Linked DNA regions of Homo sapiens: region 1 is linked to region 2. Evidence: promoter capture Hi-C in human tissues and cell types (Jung and others, 2019). All regions are on one chromosome and are shown on one strand. Each heading gives the region's core, a stretch centred on a gene start or on the middle of the fragment in contact. The rest is flanking DNA. Distances are from core to core; before and after follow the strand shown. Region 1 overlaps TMEM255B (transmembrane protein 255B). Region 2 holds the start of GAS6 (growth arrest specific 6).

Region 1 (5,240 bases), core at 1,903-4,402, 74 kb after region 2:
AGGCACCTCCCCGCCCTTCCCGCGTCTCACGTTTCTGGCATTTTATCATCGATTGCCTAAAAGAAAGTTGAGATGCTCCCAGAAGAAAGCTGTGCAGAAAACCATGGCTGCATTAGCCTGGGTCTGAACCAAAAGCTTACTTCTATTTGGACTTTCTACAGGCTGTGGCAATTTAAAAATCTCCTCTTCTGCCTAATTGCTCTGGTTCGACTGACTAAATAATGACGGAGCCCATCGCATGGTGTAGCTGCCCAGTGTGCTGGAGGAACAGACAGATGAGGGAGGTTCCCTCTTGAACAGCTGACCCCGTCTGACGGCCACCATAGCAAAGCATAAGCCAGGGCTCTGGGTGCACACACAAGGAAGGCCTCATTGCACCCTGAGAAAGAAGGAAGGCCTGAACGAGTCCTGGAAGAATAAACAGAATTTCCTCAAGGGGAGACAGGGAAGGTGCTGGGGGCTGCACGTCGGTGGGACTGGGGCCCACTGAGGTGGGGCAGAGGCCACGATGTGCAGGGCTAGGGGTGAGCTGCAGCCACCATGTTACGGTCAGAAGGTCGTCAATGCCAAGGTTGTGTGGCCGAAGGCAAGAGACTTCCTTCACCTTCCTATTTTCCTGATGAAACTGCTGCATAAAAGTAAAATGACTATTATGCAGAGCTGTGTAAAAACAGCGGGCAGAAATTACACCTAACTGAAATTTCCTACATTCAGTTAGGTATAAATACGTAAAATACATTAAAAATGTAATTGTTTGAACAAATACATAAAAACACACACAGACGGCTCAGAGGGCAACATTTGAGGTTTCCCAGTCGGGGCCAAGCCCCTCCACCTTCCCAGAGGAAGATGAAAGCCGGCCTCCAGCGGGGCCGCGTCCCCAGCTCTGGGGCCTCCCGCAGTTCCGGGGGATGTTCCTGTCCCGCAGTGCACCCTTCTCGTGGGTGCCGGCCTGGATCAGGGGGCTGCGTGCCTCGCTCTAGCATTGCAGGGAGAGCGGCGTCACATCCCATCATGCCTGCAGACATGCTTCCAGCATTAGATGCAAGCACGCAGAGGGGCCGTGGTCCCGTCACCACTGCACACGCTCCTTAAGAACTCCCACAGTTTCTGTTGGGCACAATTCCCAACCAAAGAGGCAGAAGGAAAAAAGACTTAAAGATGAAGAAAATCACTTTAAAGCTTCCAAAGTTCTTTCGCTCGACCCATCCTTCTAATCCGCACAACTGTGACATCATCATCACAATTTGCATTTTGCAGGTGCGGCTCTAAGGACTTGGGGCTCTAAACATCTTTCGCTCAGACAGCGCCTCAGCTCAGGAGCACAAGCACCCCTTCCCTGCTCCTGGTTGAGTCACCACCCTCAGAGCCACTGGTGTCCCCAAGGGGACATCTGTCCACACGACGTCGCTCCCACAGATCCCTGAGGGGTGTGTGACCAGTGTGGTCCCCCAGATTCGTTGGGGCTGCCCAACGTTAGGAAGCCCACATCTGCCTAGTGGGAGCCGAAGCCATCCCAGGAGGATCCAGCGTCCCTGTCCGGCTCGGCGGCCGGCAGGTGCCACCCGCTAGATGCCCCGGCCACTTTCAGAAGTGGGTGGCAGGTGACTCATCCAGGCTCTGCTGGGTCTCTCACCGTAAATGCGTGCAGCAGAGACTCTGCCAGGATGTGCTGGCCCTAGATGTTCACCTTCCAACCCAGTAACCCCTCATGAATGCCATGGAGCCAGGAACCTGCTGCAACCCAGCCCTGGGCAGGACACAGGCCCAGACCGTTGAGAGGTGTTCATATTTCACCCCCACCCAATTTCACCCAAAACATCACAGAAGCACCGAATTGTTAGAGCATCCCTAAAAATTGCAGGGTCTACCTTCCATCACCCATGTTTCATAAACACATTCAAACTTGGTCATGCATAACACTTCCCACCCTGCGAACGTCCTCGCAGATGTCCCAGCTCTGCCTGGCTGTCCTTCCTCCCGCTCTTTCAGTGTGAAAGGTAAAATTCAGCGAGAGTGTGGCCACGCGCAGCAAGTTCAGTGCTAGGATGTCTACGTGTCCGGTCAGTCCAGAGCTAGGATATCCATGTGTCCAGTCAGTTCAATGCTAGGATGTCTACGTGTCCGGTCAGTCCAGAGCTAGGATGTCCATGTGTCTAGTCAGTTCAGTGCTAGGATGTCCACGTGTCCGGTCAGTCCACAGCTAGGATGTCCATGTGTCCAGTCAGTTCAGTGCTAGGATGTCCACGTGTCCGGTCAGTCCACAGCTAGGATATCCATGTGTCCAGTCAGTTCAGTGCTAGGATGTCTACGTGTCCGGTCAGTCCAGAGCTAGGATGTCCATGTGTCCAGTCAGTTCAGTGCTAGGATGTCCACGTGTCCGGTCAGTCCACAGCTAGGATGTCCATGTGTCCAGTCAGTTCAGTGCTAGGATGTCTACGTGTCCGGTCAGTCCACAGCTAGGATGTCCATGTGTCCAGTCAGTTCAGTGCTAGGATGTCCACGTGTCCGGTCAGTCCACAGCTAGGATGTCCATGTGTCCAGTCAGTTCAGTGCTAGGATGTCTATGTGTCCGGTCAGTCCACAGCTAGGATGTCCATGTGTCCAGTCAGTTCAGTGCTAGGATGTCCACGTGTCTGGTCAGTTCAGTGTTAGGATGCCCACGTGCCCGGTCAGTCCAGCGCTAGGATGTCCACATGCCCGGTCAGTTCAGTGTTAGGATGTCCACGTGTCTGGTCAGTTCAGTGTTAGGATGTCCATGTGCCCGGTCAGTCCAGCACTAGGATGTCCATGTGCCCGGTCAGTCCAGCACTAGGATGTCCATGTGCCCAGTGAATCCAGCACTAGGATGTCCACGTGCCCAGTCAGTCCAGCGCTAGGATGTTCAGGTGCCCAGTCAGTCCAGTGCTAGGATGTCCACGTGCCCAGTCAGTCCAGCGCTAGGATGTCCACATGCCCGGTCAGTTCAGTGTTAGGATGTCCACGTGCCTGTTCAGTTCAGCACTAGGACATCCACGTACATGGTCAGTCCAGTGCTAGGATGTTCACGTGCCCAGTCAGTCCAGGGCTAGGATGTCCATGTACACGGTCAGTTCAGCATTAGGATGTCTATGTACACGGTCAGTCCAGGGCTAGGATGTCCACATGCCCGGTCAGTCCAGGGCTAGGATGTCCATGTACATGGTCAGTTCAGTGTTAGGATGTCCATGTGCCTGGTCAGTCAGCACTAGGACAGCCAGAAACATGAAAATGCCAAGAGCTTCTCATGGTGCTTCAACCCGAGTCCAGGCAGTGGTGTTGGGAAAGACATTGGGAATGGCCTCCTCCAGCTCCTCTGGCTAAGTCCGAAAGTCATTGCCAGAACCAGCCTCACGAGAGCTGCCTCAGGGAACAGCCCACATCCCCCTGGACTGCCTGGCTCTGTCACGACTTTTCTCCAGGCATTGTTAACTCTTGTTCAGATAAATTTTTTGTGACCTAGAACGTGCATAGCAGGAACCAGATCAATTCTCCAAAGACACAAGCAACCCACTCTCCATAGCCCATGAGGACTGCGCATGTCTACGGCCACTGCCAGGAGAAACTCTGTCCCTGCACTGGAGCCACAAGGATCTGGACTGAAGGCTGTGAAGATCTCATTGCATTCTGTTGGGGCATCTTCTCTTGAGCAAAGGTCACCTTCAAATGCCTCTGCTCTCAGAGTTTACATTCCAACAGAAGAAAGTAGATTTACAAAAAAAAAAAAACCACACTGAGCATAAGGTCATGGTGATCAGAGGAAAAGAAGGAAGGGGATAAGGTGGGGAGGGAGAGTGGCCCGGGTGCAGCTACCTCAAGAGGGCGGCTGGGTCTCTGTGGTCTGGGACATTCGAGCAGAGACTCAACAAGGTGGAGACCCTGCCCAGGCCACCCAGCAGCACCTGCAAAGGCCCCACAGCATGGCATGTGGGTCTAAGGAGCACCAGGGCAGTCGGTCGGTGGCCTCCACGAGGCAGGATGAGTGGGGCAGGAGGGAGGGAGGGAGGCGCGGCGCGGCCCCCGGGTGCAGTGGTCAGTGGGAGGGGAGCCAGCTTCCCTGGGGTTTCCCAGAACTCTGGCTGGGGTGAGGGCAGCGGCAGGGCCCAGGCAGGAGGTGACGGCGATGGTGAGGGCCAGAAGCGCGAGTGGAGTACACAGGTCGAGTGTGCAGAGACAAACGGGTGGAGGGCGGCCACACGGTGACACCGTGCTGATGACGGCACAGAGCCAGGGCCCGGATGGGCAAGAGCAGCCACTTCCATCTCACAGGTCTGTTATCACCCACACGATGACGGCTAAGATGGCTGTGTACGCCATAAATCCAGCACTAGGATGGCCACGTGTGGCAGGAGGAGACACAGGGAGCCACCAGCCGAGGGCAGAGAGGAGCCTCTGCTGCGCCAGTGCCAGGCCACGCAGGCAGTGCAACCCCTGAGCCCCCACCCAGGCCAGCAGCTCCACCTGCGAGAGGCACCTGATGCAGCCTCTGCTGCCCATCCCCACCCCCTCCGCCTTCCCCTCTGCCCATCCCCACCCCCTCCGCCTTCCCCTCTGCCCATCCCCACCCCCTCCGCCTTCCCCTCTGCCCATCCCCACCCCCTCCGCCTTCCCCTCTGCCCATCCCCACCCCCTCCGCCTTCCCCTCTGCCCATCCCCACCCCCTCCGCCTTCCCCTCTGCCCATCCCCACCCCCTCCGCCTTCCCCTCTGCCCATCCCCACCCCCTCCGCCTTCCCCTCTGCCCATCCCCACCCCCTCCGCCTTCCCCTCTGCCCATCCCCACCCCCTCCGCCTTCCCCTCTGCCCATCCCCACCCCCTCCGCCTTCCCCTCTGCCCATCCCCACTCCCTCCGCCTTCCCCTCTGCGGCATGGTGCCCCTGGCCGACACCTGGAGCTGCCCATCCCGTCTTAACCACAGATGTCTTCTCAACACCTCCTCCCCGTCCATGCCCTCTCCTCCGCCTCGCTTCCTTTAGAGTAAACCTCCTGGAGAGAGTGGACGGCACCTGCAGCTGGTTCCTCCTTCCTGGGTCACCAAGCCCAAATCTGCCCCTCCCAAGGTCACCATGCCCTGCCTGCCATCAATCCAGGGGTCACCCTCAGCCCCAGCTGACGCGATTCACCATGAGCATTTGACACATTCACGGCTCTCACACTCCCCTCCCCACTGCTTTCCCAGGCACAACCTAATTCACTTCACAAGCAGGTCCCTGCTCACAGTT
Region 2 (4,673 bases), core at 1,025-3,524:
CCTGCCCCCTGTGGAGGTGAACTGTCTACTTCACCATTGATATTTCAGGTTGTATGATATAGTGCCTGACAACTCTCCATTTTTGGAACACATCCAAATTGTTTCTTATTCATTTTCCATTTCTGCCTTCGAACGAATTTCCTGCACTGGTAACTAGGTGAAGAATTTTGGAGTTATCTGGGGTAATGGAGACATCCTCCATTGCACCGCATATTTGCTTTCTGTATTCCCCAGTTATAGAAATCAAAACGAGCAGTTGTATGTGAATGCATTGTATCAAACCAAGTCTCTAGATGATAGGAGGCATTGTCATTACTAGGATAGTAACTCAGTAGAAAGAGTGAATTGAGAATATGAGGAATGAGAGTGGGGTCCAGACTAAAAGGAGGCCAGGGGTCCTGAACTGCCCCATCCAACTGAGTTCATTCTGATACCTACTGATCTGAAGCAGCAGGTCCACGCCCAGGTGCAGATTGTCCCAGATGAACAGGCAGAGGCTAGAGATGCTCATTCCTAAAGGGATCAAATAATTCTGAGAATGGCAAGAACTCCATTAACTCTCTTCTCCAAAACTACAAAAATGTGCAGAAAATACGAACAATTTTTAGGAGCTTACACTCTTTGAAGTTTATCCATGGGCTGCTGGAACCCTTAGGAAATAATAGCTAGAAGTGCCTCAGACACTGCCTGGCACACAGCAGGTGCTCAATGAATTACACTGCCTGGCACATAGTAGGTGCTCAATGAATTGTCTGATGAAGTGATTAAGGAGCCTTGTAAATACTGATTAAAACATGTATCACCCCATCCAATTTTTCAAACCAGTGCTTCTCAAGAACAAGCAGGAAAATTAATGTAATATTGTTTTGAAGTAGCCGTGGTGGTTTCGGGGCAGAAGCCCAGGGGTACTCCTTACTCCGCCTGCTCCAGTAACTAGCTGACATGGAAGTGCCTCGTCATTCTGGTTCAGACACAGGTGCAGATAGATGACTTCTCTATCCCACTTTAATTCTCCTTGAAGATCATTCCCAGGGACATTCATTTGCTTAAATTAACATGCTCGGCCAGGCGCGGTGGCTCACACCTGTAATCCCAGCACTTTGGGAGGCCCAGGCGGGCGGATCACGAGGTCAGGAGATTGAGATCATCCTGGCTAACACGGTGAAACCCCGTCTCTACTAAAAATAAAAAAAATCAGCCGGGCGTGGTGGCGGGCGCCTGTGGTCCCAGCTACTCGGGAGGCTGAGGCAGGAGAATGGCGTGAACCCGGGAGGCGGAGCTTGCAGTGAGCAGAGATCACGCCACTGCACCCCAGCCTGGGCAACATAGCGAGACTCCGTCTGAAAACAAACAAACAACAACAACAAAAATTCATGCTCATAATCCCACTTTCAAACCAGTGACCTCAAAGATTTCTAGCAGCAATCCTATTCCATTCTTCCAATTACAGAAAGCAAAGAGAAACTGGATCTGGGGATCTAAGCGTTGAGCCTGCTGAGCAGAACGGCCATTCATTTGGGGTGAGGTGCTGACTCACTGCCCCTCTACATTGCATTTTGGGGTGTGGGGATTTCCAGAGCAGGATTCTCCAGAGAGGAGTATCCAAGCTCCCTCCTCCCGCAGCAGGGGGATGCTGGGCTAACTGCCTGGTTCGGTCCCCCGTGAGTGGTCTGCTGTGTTTTGGTTCTGTTTGTTTGTGTGTGTTTTGCCTATGACTTTGCGAAATATTCCAAGACAAGAGCCAGAAAGTCTTGGTCTCTGAAGACAAGCACAATGTTGCTTTCAGCTTAAATATCTACTGGGAAACCTCAAGATTTTTAATGTCATCATTATGAAAAACAGAGATTATAAAAGGAAACCGTCGCATTTCACTCGCTGGCCCCCAGTGGGATTGGATCTGACCTCAGTGTATCTTTTCTTTGGTAGGTTTTAAGTCTTGACAAAATGTGCCTAAGAATGAAGACTCCAAAAAGGATGCAGTAGATTCGGGGGGAGTGGGGGTTGGAAAGAGGCTTAAATCTTCACATGACACCTGGAATATGGTCAAAATGTACCTGCTCAAGTTGAACCAGGTATTGCGTCCTCCTTTTACCCCATCGCTAGTGAAGACAACCACCGCCTGGGGAGACGCTCCTTTTCCGAAACACTCGAGTCCCGCCGCGTCCCGGACGCTCCGCTTTCCCCGCGCCCGGATCCTCCCGGGAACCCGCGCCCCGCCCGCGCGCTGGTCCCGCCCCCGCCGCCTCCCCGCGCGCAGCCGCCCGAACACGCCCAGACCGAGCGCTTGAGGTGCCGCAGCCGCCGCCGCCGCCGCCGCCGCGATGTGACCTTCAGGGCCGCCAGGACGGGATGACCGGAGCCTCCGCCCCGCGGCGCCCGCGGCTCGCCTCGGCCTCCCGGGCGCTCTGACCGCGCGTCCCCGGCCCGCCATGGCCCCTTCGCTCTCGCCCGGGCCCGCCGCCCTGCGCCGCGCGCCGCAGCTGCTGCTGCTGCTGCTGGCCGCGGAGTGCGCGCTTGGTGAGTCCCGCGGGCCCGAGACCCCGTCCCCGGGCGGCGGGAGGAGGCTCCGGGCGCGGCTTGACGCGTCCCCCTCTCTCCCTCCGGGCAGCCGCGCTGTTGCCGGCGCGCGAGGCCACGCAGTTCCTGCGGCCCAGGCAGCGCCGCGCCTTTCAGGTCTTCGAGGAGGCCAAGCAGGGCCACCTGGAGAGGGAGTGCGTGGAGGAGCTGTGCAGCCGCGAGGAGGCGCGGGAGGTGTTCGAGAACGACCCCGAGACGGTGAGCAGCCGGCGGGCGGGATGCGGGGGAACCCCTGGCGCCCGCGCGCCTCCAACCGCTCCCGAGAGGCAGCGCTGCTGCCGCCCCCCAGCTCCGCGCGGCGAGGCCTGGCCTCAGGGTCCCAGGAGCCCCGGCCCGCCCCGCGTCCCCCACGCCCATCCCCCGGCGACCCCGGGATCCCCGCGCAGGCCGGTGAGACGCTGCGGGGCTGTCCGGGAAACGCTCGCTGTCAGACGCCTCCCCGCGGGGAAGCCGGGAGTCCGTTTCCAAAGTGCGAGAGAAACACAATGGTTAAAACCCAAACCGCTTCCCCGCGGCCCTCCCTCTGCTGGGCTGGAGGTGAGGAACCCCCGGGCCGCGCCTCGTCCTCCTGAGAGGGGTGGAGAGCAGTCCCCTCCCGAAAGAGGAATTGAAAGGGCCGAGGGCGGGAACTGCTTGCGGCAGCAGGTCCAAAAATAAGATTCCAGGAATCGAGCGGGGCCGCATGCGGGAGGGGAGGGCGGCTCCGCGGCCCCGTTCTGCCAGGTGCTCTCCTGGAGGCAGCGGGTGCTTTCAGGAGCCCGACGGTGCTGGCCCCGGCACCTCGGTTAGGAATGTCCTTGGAGAAGGCGGGGCGCCCGGGGCCGCCTCCCGCAGGAGCCGCCGTGTGAGGACGGCCTGGCCACTCTATCCTGCGGGCTCGGGAGCGGGTGACTTTGGAAAGTCCGAGAAGGTGTGGATTCCCGTTGACGTCCCTCCCGCCCTGAAGTCAGGGTGATTTCATAGCGAAGTTTTCCGTTCTGCTGGAATGTTCCTTTTAAAGAATTCTCCTGGGGTGGAATAAATGTCACCCGGGATGAAAGAGTGGTTCTGGATGAACCATGGAGGCCTGTTTCCGCTTACATTTCTAGTGGTTGACTTGACCCCTCTTAGATCTGCCTTTCTGAAAGCTCTGAGGCTGTCAGATGGCCACTGTGCACTTGTGGACATAGCTCATCCCTGCAGAGATGACGCACCTGGGGCTGTTGCCCGGGGGCTGCCCACAGCCCCACAGGCCCGTGCCCTCCTTCAGCTCAGCCTAGCTTGGTCGCTCTCCCCGGCCTCTCTGTTTTCCTGTTTCTTTAATGATGAATCCTGGCCTGTGCTGCTGGCTGAGGCAGGTGGGCCTGTGTGCCCTGGTCGCTCGGAGTCGCCGCCCAGCTGTGGGGTTGGTCGTGTGGCTGGTGCAGTGTCCTCCAACAGCGTCCTCACCCGGAACATTCTGCGTGCACAGGGACTGTGGCATGGGGCGTGCTGGTGATGGGAGTTGAGGGCAGCAGGGTCACCCCCACCCCACAGTACCCGCTCCGCGCAGCCCTGCAAGGCCTGGCCGCAGCCCCTCCTCGCTGTCCTCCAGGACCTGCAGGGCCCATGTCAATCAGACTGGACGCTGCCTGGATGTACTGTGCTGTTCTTCCCAAGTCAGTCCCCTACCTGGTTTTCCAATTTTAATTTAATAACTTTATTTACAAAGGTGTGAAATGAAGATAAGAAAATGAAAACAGCACTCAGGACCCCATCACTTTAATACAACTGCGGTTGCGTCACATGGTTTCTGTGCTGGCATGTTCATCTCCTCACCCTCCTGCATGTGGCTGAGTGGCTTTGGTGCCCGGGAGGCATCCCTCCCATCCTCTCACAGCCTGGCCCCAGCAGCCTCTGTCGGCTTCTTTTCAGCGTCATCTCAGTTCCCAGCGTTCTGCCCTCCTTCCCAGCCCCCATGCCAAATGATAACAACCCGCTTTCCCTCTGGTTTTTGGATCTGGCCATTAGCTTGCTGTCTGTTTCTGTTTCTGTTTCCGGTTCCTGCCGGCAGGTGGATGCTGGGGACAGCCTGGTTGGGGCAGGGGCAGGGGCAGGGTCCAGAGGCTGGCTTGAGT

The links. Contacts are between HindIII fragments. The study calls those that stand out against the background at their distance.
Region 1: a fragment that was not itself captured here is called in contact with the fragment with the promoter of GAS6 in region 2 in 2 of the 25 tissues and cell types used here (mesendoderm cells and spleen).

What each region holds. Positions count from the first base shown.
Region 1 is chr13:113,787,670-113,792,909 of GRCh38, reverse strand. The region is part of intron 3 of TMEM255B (transmembrane protein 255B); the gene reads right to left. Among named protein-coding and RNA genes, the nearest start is that of GAS6-AS1, 25 kb to the left of the region's middle. RefSeq lists enhancers at 3,662-4,190, 4,191-4,720. The HindIII fragment of the contact is 4,986 bases long and covers 660-5,240 here.
Region 2 is chr13:113,861,677-113,866,349 of GRCh38, reverse strand. GAS6 (growth arrest specific 6) reads left to right here and starts at 2,274. Exons shown (of 15, transcript NM_000820.4): 1 at 2,274-2,517; 2 at 2,609-2,775. The coding sequence starts at 2,430. It overlaps GAS6-DT (GAS6 divergent transcript), which reads right to left and starts at 2,173. Exons shown (of 2, transcript NR_044993.1): 1 at 2,055-2,173; 2 at 1-1,340. RefSeq lists silencers at 2,581-2,640, 2,661-2,720, 3,201-3,250 and an enhancer at 2,269-2,860. The HindIII fragment of the contact is 22,898 bases long and covers 1-4,673 here.